Regions from separate parts of the Homo sapiens genome. Here regions 1, 2, 3, 4, 6 and 7 are each linked to region 5. The links are contacts of gene promoters, found by promoter capture Hi-C in blood cells and fetal thymus (Javierre and others, 2016). All regions are on one chromosome and are shown on one strand. The core of a region is centred on a gene start or on the middle of the fragment in contact, and the rest is flanking DNA. Distances in the headings are between cores, read along the strand shown.

Region 1 (3,228 bases), core at 729-3,228, 1.9 Mb before region 5:
GCGATTTGGAAATTTCTATGAAAACAGCAGTGCACTTACCCTCTGAAACAACAAATCCCACTGCCAGGACTTTATCCTATGGATTTACGTGTGTAAGCAACAACAATACTATTGGGAGACTATTTGTTATAACAAAAGATTGAAAACAATCCAGAAGTACGTTAATTAGGGTCTGGTTAAATGAGCTCAGCAGAATACTATGTAGTTATTTAAAAGAACCAGGAAGTTCTCCTGGTTCTAATATTTGTGTTGTATTGTTTGTTTGTTTATTTGAGACAGGGTCTCGCTCTGTCACCCAGGCTGGAGTGCAGTGGCACGATCTTGGCCTCCCAGGCTCAAGTGATCCTCCCACCTCAGTCTCCTAAGTAGCAGGGACTACAAACACGCACCACCAAGCCCAGCTAATTTTTTCATATTTGTTGTACAGAAAAGGTTTCACCATGTTGCCCAGGCTGGTCTCAAACTCCTAGGCTCAAGCAATCTGCCTGCCTGGGCCTCCCAAAGTGCCAGGATTACAGGTGTGAACCACTGTGCCTGGCCTGTACATTTTTCTGAAACTCCTTTAATTTGATAAGAGAATCTTGACACCTCACTCATATCAGCCCACTGAAAGGTGTCCCTGTATCATTTTTTTTTTAATGTAGTCTTTCCCTGTCCATTAAGCAAGTGAGGACAACTTTGGCAATGGGTTCTGTTATGCCCTGAGGTATAAGGTGTGTATTAGAAAATCTCACTGCACTAGTCACGTAAGTCAAATTGTGGGAATGCTGAAACGCCAAGGGAGGGGACCCCAGTATTTCCAGAAGGGAGGAATGCTTATCAGAAGCACATAACCTCCAGCCTTTGCTACTTTGTAGTAAAGCTACAAGAAAAGCCCAATCACAGTCTCTGAGTCCACCCCCACCTTCTTTCAGGGAAAAAAAAAAAAACCCACCTTTTTTTTGTATCAAAGCGTTTTACATTATCTGTCATTCATAACGATTTAGTGGCTGTGCAGTTACAAAGAAATAAAAGACTGTTCCACTCTCAAAAAGTGCATAGTTTAATGCTCTAATACGGATCCATTGAAAGAGGGCAGTTACACAAACCAAATACCAATAATACAACTGCATAAGCTAATAAAATGACTGTCCAACAAAAGCAGGTCCAACCCAATAACATCTCTGGCAGGTTTCTCTGCTCATATGCATGGACTCAATTAAAGCTTCTGTTCCACTTCCAGGTCACACCAACCACTCACTAGCTTTGAGATCTTAGATAGTTTACTTGACCTCATTAAGTACTACTTCATCCATAAAACAGGGATATGAGGACCCACCCACCTGATAGGAAAGTCAGAATAATTAAAGGAGACAGAGCATACACAGTGCTGGGTGCAGTGCCTGACATATGGGGCCAAATATATGTTAACCATTCCCATCATCATCATCATTGTGAAATTTTCAAGATGTTTCTCAGGCTTTATTCTGCCAACAGGTATAAAAAGTATCAAGTTTATAAAAGAAGACTATTCACGTGCATATTTCACCTCACTTTTGATTAATTCCTTTGTTGGGGTAAAAAATACATAAAAATTAAGTTCATTTTAGATAAAAACCTTTTTTTCTCAAAAATGTTATTTAAGCAGCATGCGTGTGATGTCTTTTAAGTTTTATGATGTTTTTACTCTGAATAACAAAAAAACCTGAAACACTGACATTTGCTTCTTCAAAGTTCCATGAATTTATTTTCACAAGGCACATGAAATATTTATGCTTTACTTTCACCACCAAAATCAATAAGCCATTTGGAAAAAATGGCCAAGGTCAGACACCAGGTTTCCAACTACAATAGATAGTTACCAAACCTGCTTAGAATGAGATGATTCTACAGCCCAAATCTCATTCAGTATCCTTTGGCCCATTCTTACTCTCAGAATAAAATATTTTTAAAAAGATTTTACAAGAACAAAAGTTCTGTTTTCTACACTTCTACACTCTAACAAGCCAGACAGATTCACGCTAATTGAACTGCAAGGCTTCTGAGAGTGGCTGAAAACAACATAAATGCTATATGTGTAAAACTAAGAGGTTGTACTCATTCAGAAAAAGGAAAGGAGGGTCTCAGCCAGGTTTGGTGGTGAGCATCTATAATTCCAGATACTCTGGAAGCTCAGGAAGGAAGAAGACTGCTTGAGCACAGGAGAGCAAGACCAGCCTGGTCAACATAGCAAAATCCCATCTCCAAAAAAAAAAAAAGAAAGAAAGAAAGAGAGAGAGAGAAAGAAAGAAAGAAAGAGGGTATCATAAAGAATGAGCTGAAGACCACGAAATTGCAACACATCTTAGTAGAGTACCATGGTGGCACAGATAACAGTTAAGGGAGAAAGTTTCAATGACAGACCTTGTGTGGCCAAAAGTGATTCTACAGAAACAAAATCAGTAAGCAAGGAAAGGTCAAACTGCGACAGAATTGATTTTTCAAGCAGAATGCAGGCAATACCGTATAGCCTTTTGGAAACATATGCCAACCAACAGCAAGACTTTTCAAACGGAAGCTGAGACGCTGTTCTGAGGGTAATTGTTTTTATTTTCTTTTTTGAAATGAAATGGATGTGAAGAAGAAAGAAACCTGAAAGAATATTCAACCAAATGTAAATAGTGATTATCAGTAGATGACAGGGATGATTCCTATATTTTAGTTATATATTTATTGTTTACCTTTTTCTAAATTTTCTAAAAATAAAAAAATTATATTTTTACTTACAAGCTTTTTTAAAAAAAACAAAATGAATGAGATCAGCCATCCACTTGTAAATATGGGATACTCTAGGTAATATCTGTAGATACATACGTCTTCCCCATTAGACTCAGGACCCTCGTGAATGACACCATAGATTATTGTTCCTGGGAACCCCAGTGTCTAGCACAGGGCCTAATATATGAGCTACATTTATTAAGAAACATTTGTTTAGCAAATGAATTCTGGATATGGCCAAAAACCCAAACAAGGTAACCCTGATCTATCCTCCAGATGGTACAAAAATGGCCAGGGTCTCCCACTAGCATCTGCCCGGGACTTCCCTGGGCAGCCTCCTTCCACAAATCGGCCCCCTGTTGGGGATGTGCTGATCAGCCAGAAAGATGCTATTAGCCTGCATTATAGCTTAATGTCCCTTGTTTTTAATATCTTCCAGCAAGTCCTTTGTCCTTACTCACCTAGCTCCTTTCCTTTTAGTATTGTCTACTG
Region 2 (2,938 bases), core at 426-2,925, 1.8 Mb before region 5:
TTAAAGATAAGCAGAATAAGTTTGTGTGTATTCCTTTTTCAGTAAGAAGAAAAAAAGTTTCCCTTCTTTGTTGTTTTGTTGTAACTAATGACTTCTGAGTTATTATCCACAAAATTATGGGATATGTAGAATAGGTAGAAGATCCTATTACATCAATAAAAAATGCATTTAGATAGGGCAGGGGGAGGGGTGCAAGGTATTTATGTTTTACATAAAGTGGTACAATGTTAGCTCGAACTAGACTGTGAAAAAATAAAGATGTATATGAACAGTCCTTATGGCAACCACATTATTAATTCAAAGAGGTATAGCTAAGTAAATACCAATAGGTTAACTTAAAATGAAATTCATAACGATAGGAAGGAGGTAGAGTAACAAGAAAGGAAATTTTGAAAGTATTTCAAACTGAAAGATAATAAAAATACAACATACCAAAATTTGTAGGATGTAGCCCAAGCAGTGCTACAGGGAAAGTTACAGCTTTAAGTGTTTATTTTAGAAACTAACAAAGACGGCTGGGCACGGTGGCTCACGCCTGTAATCCCAGCACTTTGGGAGGCCGAGGTGGGTGGATCACCTGAAGTCAGGAGTTTGAGACCAAGCTGGCTAGCATGGTGAAACCCCACCTCTACTAAAAATGCAAAAATTAGCCAGGTGCGGTGGCATGCACCTGTAGTCCCAGCTACTCGGGAGGCTGAGGCAGGAGAATCGCTTGAACCTGGGAGGCAGAGGCTGCAGTGAGCCAAGATCGTGCCACTTCACTCCAGCCAGAGTGACTCTGTCTCCAAAAAGAAACTAACAAAGACTACAATCAGTGACCTAGGTTCTATTAGAAGAAGCTAGAGAAAGAAGAGCAAAGTAAATCCAAATTTAGTAGAAGCCAATGAAATGGGAAAAAGAGAAACTAAGAAAATATTCCAACAAATGTGATGAATGAAATGGACAAATTCCTTGAACAAGTGGATCTGGTACTACTTACAACTTAGGGTAAACTAATTTCAAATTCTACTTCTGGGGCCTTAAAAAAAAAAGAACCCAGAGCAGCAACAAAAACTCAGAAAATGTTATTTAAAAAGAAAAAGAATATTGTCTACAAAAATTATAAAGTGCCTAGGGATAAACTTAACAAAGATATAAGCTCTTTATGTTGAGAAATATAAAACTTTATTGAAAGATTTTTAAAAACTTAAATAGTTATATTCTTGAACAGGAAATGAGCTTGGTATTGTAAAGATAATAATTCTTCCCAAATTGATCTATAATCTCAATGCAATTATAACCAAAATTCCAAAAGGGTAACTAAATGTTACAGAGGATGCTATTATGGAAGAACAAAGGGCCAAGTATAGTTGACACACTCCTAAAGAACAAGATGTCAAAGACTGCTCTCAAAACTTTGATCATCTTGATGGTGGTTATGGTTTCACAGGTGTATGAATGTCAAATTGTACACTTTATATGCACATTATTGTGTGTCATTTAGACCTAGGTAAAGCTGTTTTAAAAACAAAAACAAAAAAAAGCCCGGCAAAACAAGCCTGGGCAACATAGTGAGACCTTGTTGCTACTAAAAATAAAAAATTAGCTGGGTGTGGTGGCACAAGCCATGGGCCCAGCTACTTGGGAGGCTGAGGCAGGAGGATTGCTTGAGGCCAGGAAGTTGAAGCTGCAGTGAGCAGTGATCACGCCACTACATTCCAGCCTGGGCAACAGAGCAAGACCTGGTCTCAGAAAATATATTAAGCTGGGTGTGGTGGCTCATGCCTGTAATCCCAACACTTTGGGAGGCCAGGGCAGGCAGATTGTTTGAGTTCAGGACTTTGAGACAAGTCTGGGCAACGTGGCAAAACCCTGGCTCTACAAAAAAATTTTAAAAATTAGCTGGGTGTGGTGATGTACACCTGTAGTCTCAGCTACTCAGGAGGCTGAGGTGGGAGGACTGCTTGCCCCTGAGAGGTCAGGGCTGCAGTGAGCTGTAATCATATCACTGCTCTCCAGCCAGGGCAACAGAGCAAGCCCCGTTTCAAAAAAAAAAAAAAAAAAGTTATTTAGCAATATACATACAGACATACAAATGGAAGAGTTAAAAAGCAAAGGAATGATTAACTCAACATGTAAAACGGTAATTACCGGGAGTGAGGGAAAGGGAAGGGTATGTGCCAGTGGGGAAGGGACGCATAGGGAGCTTGTCATGTTCTAGTATAGGTAGTATTCTATTTCTGAAACAGAATGCTGTATGTCTTACTATCATTCTTTTAACTACATGTGTATTTTATACAACCTTTTGCATATATGATAAGTTTCACAATTTTGAAAAAATGAGCGTTTGTAAAGAGGAACACAAAAGAACCAACCATTAGCTAAACTTATTATTTTGGGGGTACTCAAAACCTTTCAAACAGCACTTGATGACTACGATTAAGATCTTTCCTGCTGATTTAAAAATGGCAAAACTCTTCCTCTGTTTGAGACAGACGGGTTTTCAATTTATTTTTTTTTTTTTGGAGACAGGGTCTCACACTGTCACCCAGGCTGGAAGTACAGTGGTGCAATCTTGGCCTCTGCCTCCAGGGTTCAAGCGATCCTCCCACCTCAGCCTCCCTGGGACTACAGGTGCAAGGCACCACCTCTGGCTAATTTTTGTATTTTCTGTAGAGATGGGGTTTCACCATGTTGGCCAGGCTGGTATGGAACTCCTGGGCTCAGGTGATCTGTGCACCTCATCTTCCCAAAAGTGCTGGGATTAAAGACGTGAGCCACCGCACCCGGCCGGTTACCAATTTCAAACAAGAAAAGTAAAAACCAAACAGAAAAGCTATTGCTTACTACCCTAACTTGGTACATTTCTGTGCTTGTTAATAACTAATAATTAACTTGTCCTCTCACAACCACCTTGAGATGCAGGGGTACAGGGTAAATTAGTACTGAGATAGTACCT
Region 3 (3,175 bases), core at 198-2,697, 1.9 Mb before region 5:
ATTCTGCTAATTCAAATACGATAGCCCAATCTTACCCTTTATTAATAATTTCAGAAAACATCAGGGCCAGATGATAAAAACAGGCCAAGATCTTGGAGACTGGCTTTGCAGTGAAGGTGGAAGTAGAAAGTATCTTTCTTACTTGTGTGAGGGTCTCAGACAAAACACAAATCTTTTGCTCTGAACATCCTGTGGTACTCCCATCTTTGCCACTAAAAGTAACTTAAAATAACAAAAATAATCTGTAAGATAAATATGAGGAAGTCCAACCAAATTCTGATATTTCCCCCCATGATTACTATTTTGATGCTTCTTGGGGAAGTAATAAATACATAATTCAGCCAAGCACAGTGGCTCACACCTTTAATCTCAGCATTTTGGGAGGCTAAGATGGGAGGATCACTTGAGTCCAGGAATTGGAGACCAGCCTGGGCAACATAGTGAGACCTTGCCTCTACAAAAAATAAATACAATTAGCAGGGCATCATGTTGCATGCCTGTGGTCCCAGCTACTTGGGAGGCTGAGGCTGGAGGATGGCTTGAACCCAGGAGGTAAAGGCTGCAATGAGCCATATTCATGCCACTGCACTCCAGGCTGGGCAACAGAGCAAGACCTGGTCTCAAATACATACATAAATACATATATACATATATACATACATACATACATATCTTCCCAAAATGTTTTATTTGGGTGCAGTTGTTTGGCTAATACCCTAAGCATGCATGAGAAAGCATTGAATAACGTCAGTTCAGTGTATTCTTTTAACTTGAAATGTTCCCCAACAGCAACAAAAAGATTTAAAGGTTATGGGATGGGAAGATATCTTTGTAGGGACCATTATAGGATCCCTAGAAAGAGAGACTTATTCCTAGCAGTACATACCCTGTGATGTTTTTCTGTAAACTAACTTAGCACTAATCAGTTACACAAAATCCATTTCACTTCACTTTTTAACCACCCCCTCAAAAATTAACAACAATAATAGAATTTTCATTCCAAGTTTGAGAATAACCATTGAGAGCATTAAAACTATGTGCATACAAACACTGCAACTGGGTTCTGGTTCCTGTGATTAAGAAAGAATATAAAAATTCACTAAAGGTGTTCTGTGAGTTACCAGGAGTAATAAGACAAAAAACAATTTAATTATCGTACAAAATATTTAAATAAAAAAACTCACCAAAGGCACAAAGTGACCATTTACAGGAATCATATCCCTAGCTCCATAGTGGAGAGCATTCTTATTATTTTAAGAGCAAATTATAATATCCTTCATGTGGATCCAGGGACTAGAACAAAGAATACAAAGACAAAACTAGCTAGATCTAAGTCAAAGACTTAGAACTCTATGCAAAGGTTTTGCATAAAGAACAGAATTAATAGAGGAATCCCAAGAGTAAAAATAATAAATCCTAGAATGACGATGAGAATTATAAGGGAGCCCTTGTATTAAGTGAAAAAAGCCCCTACTTGCCTTTGCCTTTTTCCTTGAGGTTTTAGCTCAACAGTAGTTTGAGTCATTGTTGATATATAAACCAGATTTTTAACATAAAGCATAAGAAATTGTTTATTTTCTCTATAAACATACTCTGTGGGCAATCTAGTCTTTCAGTTTTGGTCAGCAAAATATATATTTTCTTACCCAACTAAAATGCTAAATCACTGCAAACAATTATTTACAAATTAATAAGATTTCCAAAAGTAAAACAACTTCATGAAACTTATTTAAAGATAGACAAGACAAACTTCAGCAGAGGCAGTAGATCCAGTGGTTAATCATTTCCTGGGCTTGCTTTCAAATTGAGGCTTTACTTATTAACAGCTGTATGACTTTGAGCAAGGTACTTAATTATAGTGTGCTCACTGGTTTTTTAAAAAGTGTGTGTCGGGGGGGTCCCAGCTATTCCAACCTGGGCAACACAGCAAGTCCTTGTTTAAAAACAAACAAAAAACAAAAAAGATGATACTATTGTATTAAGTTATATGTAATGATATATTACAGGGTTTAGTGCAGTGTCTGGCACTTGTAAATTCATTTATTCATTTCAAAAAGTGGTTATAGAAAAATCTCACTTTGTTAGATGCTGGGGATACAGGCATGAACAAAACAGATATGCCTTCTGCCCTCAGACATACAGTCTACTAGGCAAGGCAGTTAAAAGGTCAGTTAAAACCAACATAATATATATTACAAACTTTCAATGAGGCATTTAGCTGGGAAATGTGAGGCTAATAAAAATATATTTAGTAGCTGCTAAACGTTAATGTTTAAAAATATGTATATATACTTAGGATTAATAGATGAGAAGACTTGCACATTTCAAAGCCCTTATTTACAAACATTTATTGATTATGAAACATCCTTGAAAATAATGAGGGAGTAACTTCGTTGGTATGACTGGGAAAACAAGTTGAGTCTTCCTGGTTCAGACAATAGAGCATGGAGTTTGGTGAGTTAACATTGATATAATTAATGGACCTTATCTGAAATTCACCAGATGGATGAATTTGTGAGTGGTATTCATTTGCGTGTGGGTTGGTGTGTATATTAATTTTTAAATTTTATTTTATATTTTGTGGGGCGGTCTCCTGAGCCAAAGTAGGCTGAGAGAAACGCCCTAATTTTTATGCAATTGTATCTCGTGTGTAGATTTGTGTGACCACTGCTATAGTCAACATACAGGACAGTTCTACTACAAGTTTCCCTTGAGCTACCCTTTCATAAACATAGACACCGCCCTTACTCCCCACCACCGCCAACCCCAAGCGACTAATCATCTGTTCTCCATCCCTATAATTTTGTCATTTTGAAAATGCTACATAAATGTAATCGTATTACTTGAAGCCAGGAGTTCAAAACAAGCCTGGGCAACCAAGCAAGGGCCCGTCTCACAAAAGAAAAAAAAAATCAGCCAGGTGTGGTGGTGCACATCTGTAGTCCCAGCTACTCACAGAGGCTGAGGCAGGAACATCGCTTGAACCAGGAGCTCAAGACTGCACTGGGCCACTGTCACACCACTGCATTTCAGCCTGGGTGAAACAGTGAGACCCTGTCTCTAAAAAAAAAAAAAATAAAGTAAAATAAATACAATCATACAGTATGTAACCCTTTGAGATTGCCCTTTTTTCCATTCAGCATAATCCCTTTGAGATTCTTCCAAATTATTACAT
Region 4 (2,959 bases), core at 413-2,912, 1.5 Mb after region 5:
TCACTGCAGCCTCCACCTCCTGGGTTCAAATGATTCTCCTGCCTCACTCCCAAGTAGCTGGGATCACAGGCATGCACCACCACGCCCGGTGTATCTCTAAGTAGAGATGGAGTTTCACCTTGTTGGTCAGGATGAACTCCTAACCTCAGGTGATTCACCCACCTCAACCTCCCAAAGTGCTGGGATTGGATTACAGGCGTAAGCCACCACACCTGGCCTTAAAGTGCCATTTTGAATACCAGTGAGATCAAAAGTGATTAGAAGTAAAATTTAAATATTATAATTTCCCCAGGCATGGACAGGTGTAGTGGTAAGAACATTTCTCCTTTGTTAGCCTTTAGCATACTTTATAATTTTACACCTTATAAACAGGAACAGTGCCTATGGGTTTAATTAGTGCTTAGTTGTTTTGTTTTGCTCCTTCATTTTTGGCTGAGAAATTAATGATATTTGGAAATATCTGGAGTTCCTTTTTCTTGAAAAGGTCACAAACCACTGATTTAAAGAGGATGACTTTGAAAATTTAGCTCACAATAGTTGTGAAATAAATGTAGTAGTACTTTGTAGCTTAAATTCCGGTAAAATTATCACTTTGTCATTTTGATCTCAGAGGAGAGCTATTATTTGTAGCAAACTACAAATATAAACTAACGTGGAATTCCTGTGGATCAAGGCATGATACATATTTATATGTGTGTGTGTGTATTCTTTTCTGAACCAATATGACAATAAGCCATCTACTCTGAAGTACAGAGGCAGCCATCTATCATTGACTTATAAAGCTTTGACCCCAGTGAGAGTGTGTGTAAGAAGGAATACCTTGAACACTTCAGAGTGAAGTCACCCAGCTTAGCTGAGTGGGGGCCACCATGCCTTGCTCAAAGCAGGTTCTCCAGTCAGCAAACATCAGTCAAGGCAGAATCTATAGGCAGTGCCTAGGAACACAGACGCAATTTCAGATGGTGAGGAAAAAGCAAGTGAAGCACACAATTTGAATCTTGGAAATATACTTTGAATCATGGGTTTAGAAGACACAGGGAAAGGGCCGGAAAAATGAGTCATCCTGCAGATGTTCTCAAAATGATGATGACAGCAGAAGATGTTTTTGCATTCTCAGGTCAATGGCACTGACTTTACCTTCCGAAGTGCAGGCGTCCTCCTCCTTGTTGTGGATCCGTGCAGCGTTCCATTCCGCTTGACGGAAAAAACGGTTTTTCCTCTTGCTGATGTCAGTCGCATTGAAGAGTATTTAAAAACAGGCATCCCTCCAAGGTAGGTCAAGCTTGTGCTGTAACAGGGAAAAGCCACCTTAAAGATGTGGAGTGCTCCAAACTGATAATGCCTGGTCAAGTCCGATTTTTTACTCTCTGGACATTCAGGGCACTATGCAAGGTGTTCATTCCTCTCCTACCTCAGATTGACGCCCATGTCGTCTAAGCTGCTTATCATTGACAAGCCATTGCTTACCTGTGGCAGAACTTGGATGTTGCAACATTTTGCAAAATGGTGGGAAGGCTCTTCAGAGGAAAAGAGCTCATTATTTGGAACATTACTATCCCACTTTTTATTTTATTTATTTTTTGAGTTTCGTAAAACAAATATCAGAGCATTATACTTTTTAGTATTAAGTTGATATACTTTGTCCACAACTCCCTCAGAAGGCTTATTACTATTTTGAAGTGATTTTCCAGGCAGTTTACCTTTGCAACCCTCTGTCGCACTGACGGTCTTGGACAGCATTGCACTATGATTGTGATACAGGAAGTCATCACCTGGGTCACTTGGAAATGACTGGAAAAGAGTAAATTGATTTTTGAAGTGGCTGAGTGTGCAATCGCTCTTACAGAGCACTAGTCTGATTGGTTTTCTTTGATGTCTCTGAAGAAAGCTGCACAGGAGAGAAACCTTTCTTTTTCTGGGTTGGTGAGACCCTGCCTGGAGGCAAGGAGATGAACTCAGGGTGTTTTCTGCCTTTGCCGCAGATGTTGATTTATACACCCGCTTTCATTTAATGGAACCATTAAGGAAGGAACTTAAGCTTTCCCCAAATTAAAGGCCTATCTAGCTTTAGAATCATTTTCCAATAGCTTATGCTTTATAGAACCGGATGCCAATAAATTCTATGAAGTCACTGGATTATTTGGATGTAACATTAAATGTATATATGTCGTTCTGTCTTCTGGCTTAAGACACTTGTACAGCCTCAATTTTCTTGCAGGATTTAAAGATTTTTCCTAATGTTGAAAATACATGCACTCACTTCCCCTAAAACAATCCAGGACATAAATCTCACCACAAGTATTTAGGACAACATGGTAGTCCTGCAAGGTACCCCATAGATTTAAGAGGTAAAACCAACTCATTAACAGAAAGGCTTTTAAGATACTGGTAATGCTGTTTCTTGATCTGCCTCTGGTTATGCAGATAGGTTTCGTTTGCAAAAATTCAGTGTGTGTGTAACATTTTAACAAAGTGTTAAGAAGGTATGGAGCAACTGGCAGTGACTTCTAGGGAGACTGAGCACGTGTCTATGTGTATAGGGTTGCGGGGTGACCTGTAAATGATCTTATGGGTAATTCTGACCTATTGAAGAAGGTCAGGTCTGCAGGGTAGCCGTGCTTAGACTGCTGCACTAATTTTAGATTGTGTCACCACTGCTTTAGAAAGACTACAGTAGGCCAGGCACGGTGGCTCACACCTGTAATCCTAGCACTTTGGGAGTCTGAGGCAGGAGGATCACCTGAGGTCAGGAGTTCGAGACCAGCCTGGCCAACATGGTGAAACCTCATCTCTACTAAAAATACAAAAAACTAGCCGGCATGTTGGTGGCACCTATAATCCCAGCTACTCGGGAGGCTGAGGCAGGAGAACTGCTTGAACCTAGGAGGCAGTTTGCAGTGAGCCAAGATTGTACCACTGAACTCCAGCCTGAGCAACAGAGCGCGACTCTGTCTCTAAA
Region 5 (3,078 bases), core at 29-2,528:
TGGATGTGGTTGAGCCTGGAGCTAGGGTGTTACTGTCACTTTTGGGGAAGAGGCCATTTCAGAATTATGAAACCAACATTTTACCACATTTGAGTCATTTGCAATGTGCATTCTCTTACAGCTACCAAAATACTCCTGTGGAAAGAGGGCAACATTGCTTTCTCAAAGTTTTTACAATCTTTTAGATATAACCAAGGCAAGAAAAATTCCATCCTTGTTAATTAGCTAGCAGTGAACATAAGAAATCAGAACATTTAATAAATATTTAAAATGAACGAACAGAAAAATTCTTGAAGGAACATGTTTAAGAAAAAAATAGCCAGATACATGATTTGTAATCTCACTTTTACAAATATATCCAACACTAGTAAATACTCTTCTTTAGTTTTGCTTTGTGCTTTTCTAAGGAGTTTTATGGCCATTAGCTCATGCAACAATCAAGTGGAATAGCTGTTGGAGGGCCTCACTGACATTCCCCTAGGATAATGTATCTGACACTACCCAGAAAGTATTTCCCTTCTTTTTAGGTTTTCCAGCCAGCACTTGAAAAGACTGTATATGACACAGAGCCTACAAGAAAAGGAATGTGGCCACACCCTCTTTAAATGAAAAAAGTAATAAGCGGACCTTCTTATTTTAAATAGCATAAGCAAATATAACATATATTTTTAAATGTTTATTACAAAGAGCATGATTAGCACTTTGAGGTCTGAATCTATCTTGTTTTCCTTACAAAAGAAGAAAATAAATTATGAAAGTCCTACTATTTTGAAACAGTTCCCTGCAGCCCACTCCTATCACTTTTGTTCTTGCCCCCAAAAAGCAGCCCCCATCACGATTTCTCTGTAAAACACACAGCTCTTGGGAAGAAATATTTCAAGGGGAAGGAAAGGAAAAACACATTCTTTTAAGGCTACCAGAGGGAAAGCACATTCTTCCCTTCTTTCTCATGGTAACTTACCAAGAGTACAATGAGCCAGTATTAAGCAAACTTATCTTATTTTTACTTGTATTTGTTAACTAAGTAGAACAAAAATATTGTAATTTGTGATTCCTAAAATATAAATATCCAATGTAATTCTACAGAAAGATTTATGAATGACTTATCATGTTAAATGCAACTAACCATAAATCCTGTAGAAGCAGTAACATTTAACATAGTGATGAGAAAAGTTTTCAAAACAACCAAAACTAACTAAAAGGAAAACCAAGACTTACCTTTATCTCTACCTTCTTGCAAAGAACTAAAGAGAAATTCTTCTCTGAAGATTTCACACTGGCAGTGGAGACTTGGGCTTCTGATTTTATAGGATTTTAAAGGAAGCCACACCTAGCAACCAGAAGTTAGTAATTGGCTGCCTTCTGTTTGAAGTACATGGCTCAGCTATGTCCAAAAACAAAGTGAAACAAGTCTTGCAAAACTACTCACTAAACCAATTCAACTGGCATTACAAAGGAAAAGAAATGGAAGGGCTGATTTTTCCTCCCTCTTTATTTTGCACTTTTATTTCCAGATGGGATATTTATTTTGCACTTTTATTTTCAGAGTATACATCTGCCCCAATCCTAATACCAGTGATTGGCACACTTTTGTAGTTAAATAGGTTGTAGACTAAAAAGTATGTTACCTTCAAAACTAAACAAACCAACAAACAAAATATTACATTTGAATTCCACCTCCATCACTTATTATTCTGTGACTTTAGGGACATACTTAATTTTTCTGAACCTGTTTTTACTTTTGTTTTGTTGTCTTTTTCCCCCGCTTTTTGTGGAGAATGGGGTCTCGTTATATTGCCCAGGCAGGTCTCAAACTCCTGGGCTCAGGCTATCCTCCTGCCTCTGTCTCCCTAAGAGTTGGAATCACAGGCGTGAGCCACCATGCCTAGCTGTTTTTACTTTTGTATATAGGAGCATTATCTAAGTTGTCTACCCACTAGAATTCTTGTGACAATGGAGAAATAACATATATTTGTAAATTTTAACATTACACAGTGCCGAATAATTTTCTATTTATATTTTTCTTGCCTTAAAAAATAAACGACTTTTGTTCCTAGATATAGCTTGTTGTTATAAATAAGAAATATAGAAGTAATAAAGTTCCAGATTGGCTCAAAATTTTGAACAAAGGTAATGCCAAAAATTTGATCATTATGACATTCAATAAAAGCATTGACATCAGAAGGCCTATCTACATTAATTCTTTTAAATAGAGTCAGTTACATAGAACTATATATATAAACTGTAATATAGATCAGTTATATATACATTTTGATACACATCTTTGACATTGTAGACTAGTTGAACACCAAAACAAGGAACTAGACCTATAAAATGAAAGGATTAATGGAGCAGCAACTATTACAGAACACATTCCATAAGAAATTTCCCACCCAATGGAGGAAAATTGGTTCTGGTAACTTCCATAGTGGTTCATTTTCATTCTTCTTTAAACCCTACAAAGTATTATATGATGTTTCCATTAAAGTGCACAGGTGTAAAATCTCACAGCATTATGGCTCAATTTATGCTGCATTTAGTGGTTTGTTCTTTTTCCTCTTTTCCTCATAGATATTTCACATAAAAAACATGAAGTTTAGGAAGTTAATGAAAATACTTTCTAAAGATTGGCAGTATTTTATAATACATTCTAAGTGCTCGATGCCAATATCAATGAAGTCAACATATCCTGAAGTAGGATGATCATCTAATCTAAATATTTAAGAAAATGTCAATATATGTTTTTACTATCATATGTGTAAGTTGAAAATTAATTAGTTACCTGCTAACAAGTTAAGTTAATTGATATTATTGCAAATTGATCTTGACAGATGTAGACTAACTTTCTAATACCATATTTATGTCATCAGGTGAGAAGGAATAAGATGATTATACAAAATCTGGTTTTCTTTTTTTCTTTAATTTGCGTTTGTATTCCTAACTCTGGTAATGGAACTATTGGAACATTCCTGCACAGTGATGCTCTTGTGAAATGAAGAAAAAATTCCACTTACTTTTTATAAAATATAACAACCTAGAAAACATGTATAGTCTCATTTTGCTTTGTTGCTGCTATTA
Region 6 (3,218 bases), core at 169-2,668, 1.4 Mb after region 5:
TATTCAAGAGGCAAGTTCTAATTCCAGTAAAGGAACACTACAAGTCAATAATCTCATTTTCTAAAAGGGGAAACTTGCGTATCACTCAGCTTGCTAAGTAATCTTTGGTTTCTCTAACCTGTAATTTCCTCATCTCTGAAAATGAGAAGTTATGTCTTTAGCCACTTGCCTCTTTCATTTTGTTGGGAGAGTGCACATGGCTGAAGATAGTGATGTTTCTCAGTCTTGGAGAGAGGTGCTATCAGTACTTACTTCATCATTCACTGTGTGCAAGAAGGAACTTGTGAAGACCTGATCAATGTATTATTTAGCAATTTTCATTTTTGATTTACCAGGATGTTGTGAACACATTTCTTTTCTAAAACAGCTTTCTAGTGTGAATCCCAAGAGAATGTATAATTTTGCCTCTTACTATTGGTTTATTTCCAGAGTAGATGATTCAGGGAAACTTTTTTTTTTTTTTTTTTTTTTTGGTGAAGTTTGTCCTGAACTAGATGCTAGCAATTTAGTTTTGTGGTAAAACTTTAAAATGGAAATGTGATGACAAATTAAAGGGTAAGATGGTTCTCTGCTGGTGGGAAGGCGTGGGATTTCCATTCTAATGGCAGGAAATCAACATATGTTAGCACATTTTTTGCAGATCTGCAGTAAATAATGGTAGTGCTTAGATTCGGCTATATTATTCCTGCATTTTAATGGGTTGGATGGAATATCAATGTGTTTATAGAAAATTGCCCAGATCAAAATCCTCGTCTCAGGAATTGGGATCCAGGACAAGATTCTGCAAAGCAAGTTGTTATCAAGGAGGGAGATATGCTCCGTCTGACCTCAGACGCCACCGTGCATTCTATAGTCATTCAGGATGGAGGTAGGTAATGGTTCCTGCCTATGGGAACTGCAAGGTTGCTCTTTAATGTGGGGGATATTTGATGTTCCTTATGTAGAAGACTATTTTTAGGCAGAATAGGCTTTAGTTTGTGGTGTCACTCTAACCATGGAGATTTGGAAAGATCATGAGATAAAACCAGAGAATTTATCCAGAGATAAAAAACATAGAATTTAAGAGCTTAGACCTTAGGTATCACTCAAATCAAGACCCCTGATTTATAGACAAGGAAACAGTTCCAGAGAGGTGATCTCTCAGAGCTAAATTTTTGTCACAATTCTGAGAGTGATTTTGTCACAATTCTGAGAGTTAACATGAGTAAACATATACAAAAATAAGATTCAGATTTGTAGACTCTTAGATATTTTTAAGAGAAATGATTTAACCTCTAAAGTGAGTAGGTTGAAATTCACAGTCATGGGCATTGAGAGTATATTAAGATATGAACTCTTCATTTTTCCCTTTAGTTTTCTAAGCAGATTCTTAGCGAATTCTTTTTTCCGACCTAATTGCGGAAGTGTATTTAACTTAAGGTGAAATCTATTTCCTTGTATCTCAGAAAGATGATTTAGAAGTTGGCTTACAGGGTGGTGTTCCCTGCAGGACTGCTTGTATTTGGGGACAATAAAGATGGATCCAGAAATATTACTTTGAGGACTCATTACATCCTGATCCAGGATGGTGGGGCGCTTCATATTGGAGCAGAAAAATGCCGCTATAAATCCAAAGCGACAATTACCTTGTATGGCAAGTCAGATGAAGGTGAAAGTATGCCAACATTTGGCAAAAAGTTTATTGGTGTGGAAGCTGGCGGGACACTGGAGTTACATGGGGCACGGAAGGCATCGTGGACGTTGTTGGCAAGGACCCTGAATTCCTCAGGCTTGCCCTTTGGGTCCTATACCTTTGAAAAGGACTTTTCCCGGGGCCTCAATGTGAGGGTCATTGACCAAGACACGGCCAAAATTTTGGAAAGTGAGAGATTTGATACCCATGAATACCGCAATGAGAGCAGGCGGCTTCAGGAGTTTCTGAGATTCCAGGATCCAGGTCGGATTGTTGCCATAGCTGTCGGGGATTCAGCCGCTAAAAGTCTCTTACAAGGAACCATCCAGATGATCCAGGAACGGTTGGGAAGTGAACTGATCCAAGGACTGGGCTACAGGTAGGCATACCTTCTTCCCAGATCCCTATCAGAGTCCGTGTCTGTGTGAGAGGAGAGTGAGGGTGGGGAAAGGAGCCACAGCCACAGCATGACTCAGGCATCAGAAGGGCCACTCTACCATTTGCATGTCTGGTAGCTTTGAGACATGGGGCTGGAGGATAGGACACCACATACAAAAGCTATTTTCATTGGCTTTGGTTTACAAAGCCCTTTGTGAACTGGAGTGCCAGACTTGTGAAAAGTTGAGAGCAGAAGTGTGGTACTGAAAAACAGTCAGGCAGTTTAAGGACAATTTGCCTCTGAAGATACTTCTTCCTTTCGTTACCTTCTGAAGATCATATGAAACTCAGGCTAATTGAGGCAACTTAATGAGTTTAAAGGTTAGGGCAGAATTTCATGCTAAGTTCTAAACCTGTCTTAAAAGGCTGAGGGGGTAGAATATGCAGTTTTTCTTTTTCTTTTTCTTTTTTCGGACTCCTTTGCAGGCTGATTGGAATCTGCATGTTTGATTGGCACAGGTCTATGGACCCCTGGCATATATGAGGAAGGAAAAAGTTAAAGGGCTAGGAAATTCATCCAGATAGTAGAATTCATTTCTGCTATTTATGGTTCTTGTACCCTATTCCTTTTATTTTTATTTTTAGTGACAGGGTCTTGCCCCGTTGCCCGAGCTGGAGTGCAGTGGTACAATCGTATCTCACTGCAGCCTCAACCTCCCAGGCTCCAGTGATACTTCCACCTCAGCCTCCCAAGTAGCTGAGACTACAAACAGTTGCTACCACACCTGTCTAATTTTTAAACTTTTTGTAGTTGAGGGGGTCTCACTTTGTTGCCCAGGCTGGTCTAAACTTCTGTGCTCAAGTGATCCTCCTGCCTCACCCTCCCAAAACATCGGCTTCATAGGCATGAACCACCACACCCAGCCTTCTTGTGCCATATTCTAATTAACTGTGATTTCCTAACGCAGTTCTGAGTCTAGGGGAAGTAGCCGACCTAACATTTCATTTAAAAGACAGAAGCTTTTAATTCTGCTGAATGCTTTTAGTAAAGTCAGGGAATATCTGTGGTGGAAAAAGTAAGAGTACCTCAAAACCGACATGCCGTAATGATCTAGTTACTATTTTTTCCTTTGATAGTAGGTTGTTGGAATGGGGTATTACCTACAGC
Region 7 (3,048 bases), core at 276-2,775, 2.0 Mb before region 5:
CAGGGTTCTCTAAAAGCTTTTTGTTAAGAAACAAGCCCCATTTTAAAGAAAAATCTTAAAGGATCTATAGGAATAGATACAATTTCAGGAAGAATTTCATATCTTCAAGTTTATGTTTAAGAAGAAATACAACTGGTTAAATCAAATTTAATAACGTATTTATTTTAAGAATAAAATGCCCTCTTTTGTTGGTGCCAGAATTTGTGTTCATACTTTGTTGTCACTAGTGGTACAGATTCTCTTCTACTAAAATTTAGTTGAGGGTGTTTGAAAGACCTCAAATGGGCTTCTCTGGGTATCGTTTCTCAAGGCTCCCACAGAGTGAAAAACCAAACAGTCACAGAATAAACTCTTATAGAGGCAGTTATTCATTTCCTGAGCTAACCCACTTCCTTCTTCATACATTTCCTTCTCTTCATCAACGTGTTTTTTGAAATTAGCATTGAAATCATCTTGCAAAATATACTTTTGGACCTAGGGCCGGGATTCTAGGCAAATTCCAATGGCCATGTCATTTTTACATCATCACTGTAGTGATACAAAATTAGAACGCCAAATGAAGTGTCATGTCAGTAGTACAGAAGGCTCCCTGCAATGCTAATTGTGTTTCAGCAAAAGAATCTGAATCATTATGAACTAGATCCATACTGTGAGAAAACAAATGTTATTAAAAAAACTGAATGCAAAAAATTTCATGGTTCCTGACTACTCCATATGGAAAAGTATGGCATCTATCATAAGGAAATAAATTTTTTTAACCTTTCAAATCTTAGCGAAACTGTAATGAGTTGTTGGGTTTCTCCACTCTAAATACAACCTTGGAGATAAAAACTGGAAGTCTCACAATTATTAAATTTACCTATTTTATTAGACATGCACCTTCTCAATGATTATTGTCCTGACTTTGATCAAAGCTAACACAAGAAGTTGAACTAAAATGTGGCTCTCATTATTCTTCTGTGCTAATAAATATAAAATATAATTTAAAAAATAAAATCAGTTCTTACCTAAATATAAAAAGCTTTACTTACTTAACGACAATGAGTGATACCACAGAAACGGACAAAAGAAATAAAGTCTCTCAAAATGTTTATTTTTGTCAGAATAGCTGACAATTTTCTGTTAAGTATTTTGGTTTATTATTATAATAAGCATTTCCCCCCCTTGAAAAATCCATTCAAAATATCTCAACCATTGAGGTAAAGCATTTTAACTAAAAAAAAAAAAAAAAAAAAAATCCTAATTTGTTTTTAAAGAAAAAAAAAAATCTTAAAATTCCTTTTGCTTGATAAATAGAAATAATATCTTCTTGTTCTACTTTGGTGAACATAAATGTGCCAAGAATCCAGTCACTTACTGGCAAACCAAAGGTGGGAACAATTCATTTACACGTTCTACTCAAACACAGTGCAACACTGCCGTGTTCATATATAATTTTCTTTATAGTTACCAACACTTTTCTGGCAAAGACAAAGTTTTGGAATGGCAAAAGCAACAGAAGTTTTAGATCTCAAAGCTCCAGAAAGGAATTAATCTGAGTCTTCATCATCGAGATAGTCCTCGGCATTGCTTAATGTTCGAACTGCATCTGAAAGAAAGAGGAGGGAAAAAAGCAAAATAGGGAAATTATAAACTGCTCAGATTTTATTTTTTCATTTTCAAAGCTCTTAAATTAGAATAGAATCTTCCATCTGACCCAGGGATTGTACTTTCCCTGAGGATCTTTCTCTGCTTTTGCTTTTCAGCCTAACCATTAAGTTTCTGTTGCCACAGAGGCTGATGATGCGTTCCACAGTCATGCAGAAGTTTTGGTCCTAGGTGCCATGCATCCATTTCCAACAGAAAGGCCTAGCCACAGGCACCATGACCAACATGATACACCACCAGCAGCACTCCACTCTGACAACTGAGCTTCCAACCTCCTCTCCCAGTGACAGCCTGAGGTCTTGCCTAAAGGCAAAGTCACTAGGTAGGACGTTAACTACCGAAGGGGAAAAAGGAAAAGAAAGAATGAAAACAAAGAAGCTTCCATTTCAATGTAGAAAACACCGACAATAAAGCAAAAGGCTGAAATGGGGGGGAAAAGTTTTAAAATAGAGCTGGACCCCATCAAATGTTCAAGCAAACTTGAACAGGACTCAAAAGGAAGACATCTGATCTTTCACAGTCACCCCTTCAACTGTCTAGTCAAATTCCTATAGCAACAGATTAGCCCAAGTATAATTTTAGTGGGAAAAACAGAATGCAAACACAAGCACATTGTTGAAGTTCAATAAATATATGTCACAGCACCCAGATCTTCATGATCTCTAAGTATCACATCTCTGAAGCTTATTATACATATGACCGGTTCCAAGTATGGGGCAGGAAGTGTAAGGGATGGACCTAGAACCCTAGTCATGTCATAAAGCAAGCATCCTAACAAAGACAGCATCACGTGAAAGGGTCTGAGATTCAACTTAAAGAGGCCTCCACTAGCCAAAGATGGGCTATTGATAAAGCTACTAATTGGAATGGATTAAAGCACATTAAATATTTCAAGGCACACCAAAAAGAACTCATCTGTCACCCTTTGGAGGATGACAGAGACCAGCTTATTATTTTAAAACCTCTTAAATAAAGGTCAAAAATCAAGCATTTATCCTGCCCTTGCTACATTAACTGTTCCTCTGCGTAACAAAACAATTGATGAGGGAAAACTTTTCCTAATAGAATGTTCCAGCTAATAACTCAAAAAGAAGTGATTTAATTAGAATATCATCATTTTGTGCCGTTTAGTGAAGTAACAGATCTAGGCAACGATCATCAATGGATGTCACATCACAGGAAGAGTGACAACCAGGTATCATGTGCCCCTGATAAAAGAACACAATATTCTATATGATTTATTATTCCTTCTACTACCAAGAAAGATACATGATTAGGTAGGTAGGTAGATAGGTAGGTAGGTGAAGAGATGGATAGATTGAACCTAAATTGGATCAAACCTCTGGCTAGCTAGCTAGATTTGATACATAGCTAGGTAGGTAGGTAAGTAGGTAGGTAGGT

The links. The method cuts DNA at HindIII sites, captures the fragments that hold promoters and counts their contacts. A CHiCAGO score of 5 or more calls a contact.
Region 1: a fragment that was not itself captured here is called in contact with the fragment with the promoter of ANXA1 in region 5 in 4 of 17 cell types (non-activated CD4 T cells, activated CD4 T cells, total CD4 T cells and 1 more); the score reaches 8.2 in non-activated CD4 T cells.
Region 2: a contact is called between a fragment that was not itself captured here and the fragment with the promoter of ANXA1 in region 5, in 2 of 17 cell types (monocytes and naive CD8 T cells). The highest score is 5.4, in monocytes.
Region 3: a fragment that was not itself captured here is called in contact with the fragment with the promoter of ANXA1 in region 5 in 1 of 17 cell types (total CD4 T cells); the score reaches 6.9 in total CD4 T cells.
Region 4: a contact is called between a fragment that was not itself captured here and the fragment with the promoter of ANXA1 in region 5, in 3 of 17 cell types (M2 macrophages, monocytes and non-activated CD4 T cells). The highest score is 6.5, in M2 macrophages.
Region 6: a fragment that was not itself captured here is called in contact with the fragment with the promoter of ANXA1 in region 5 in 1 of 17 cell types (monocytes); the score reaches 7.9 in monocytes.
Region 7: a contact is called between a fragment that was not itself captured here and the fragment with the promoter of ANXA1 in region 5, in 4 of 17 cell types (activated CD4 T cells, total CD4 T cells, non-activated CD4 T cells and 1 more). The highest score is 11.0, in activated CD4 T cells.

The regions. Positions count from the first base shown.
Region 1 is chr9:75,092,074-75,095,301 of GRCh38, reverse strand. All of the region lies in intron 1 of OSTF1 (osteoclast stimulating factor 1), which reads right to left. Among named protein-coding and RNA genes, the nearest start is that of OSTF1, 5.2 kb to the right of the region's middle. The HindIII fragment of the contact is 1,544 bases long and covers 1,207-2,750 here.
Region 2 is chr9:74,954,245-74,957,182 of GRCh38, reverse strand. All of the region lies in intron 1 of CARNMT1-AS1 (CARNMT1 antisense RNA 1), which reads right to left. Among named protein-coding and RNA genes, the nearest start is that of CARNMT1-AS1, 2.7 kb to the right of the region's middle. The HindIII fragment of the contact is 4,014 bases long and covers 1-2,938 here.
Region 3 is chr9:75,032,624-75,035,798 of GRCh38, reverse strand. No RefSeq gene overlaps it. Among named protein-coding and RNA genes, the nearest start is that of CARNMT1, 5.9 kb to the right of the region's middle. The HindIII fragment of the contact is 6,453 bases long and covers 1-3,175 here.
Region 4 is chr9:71,688,405-71,691,363 of GRCh38, reverse strand. It overlaps CEMIP2 (cell migration inducing hyaluronidase 2), which reads left to right. Exons shown (of 24, transcript NM_013390.3): 22 at 1,118-1,272. Among named protein-coding and RNA genes, the nearest start is that of CEMIP2, 79 kb to the left of the region's middle. RefSeq lists an enhancer at 190-1,389. The HindIII fragment of the contact is 756 bases long and covers 1,285-2,040 here.
Region 5 is chr9:73,150,065-73,153,142 of GRCh38, reverse strand. ANXA1 (annexin A1) reads right to left here and starts at 1,278. Exons shown (of 13, transcript NM_000700.3): 1 at 1,219-1,278. The HindIII fragment of the contact is 9,458 bases long and covers 1-3,078 here.
Region 6 is chr9:71,743,851-71,747,068 of GRCh38, reverse strand. CEMIP2 (cell migration inducing hyaluronidase 2) reads left to right here. Exons shown (of 24, transcript NM_013390.3): 3 at 728-868; 4 at 1,490-2,051. Among named protein-coding and RNA genes, the nearest start is that of CEMIP2, 23 kb to the left of the region's middle. RefSeq lists an enhancer at 2,371-3,218. The HindIII fragment of the contact is 3,308 bases long and covers 1-3,072 here.
Region 7 is chr9:75,145,223-75,148,270 of GRCh38, reverse strand. OSTF1 (osteoclast stimulating factor 1) reads right to left here. Exons shown (of 10, transcript NM_012383.5): 10 at 1,006-1,588. The coding sequence ends at 1,530. Among named protein-coding and RNA genes, the nearest start is that of OSTF1, 58 kb to the right of the region's middle. The HindIII fragment of the contact is 1,004 bases long and covers 1,024-2,027 here.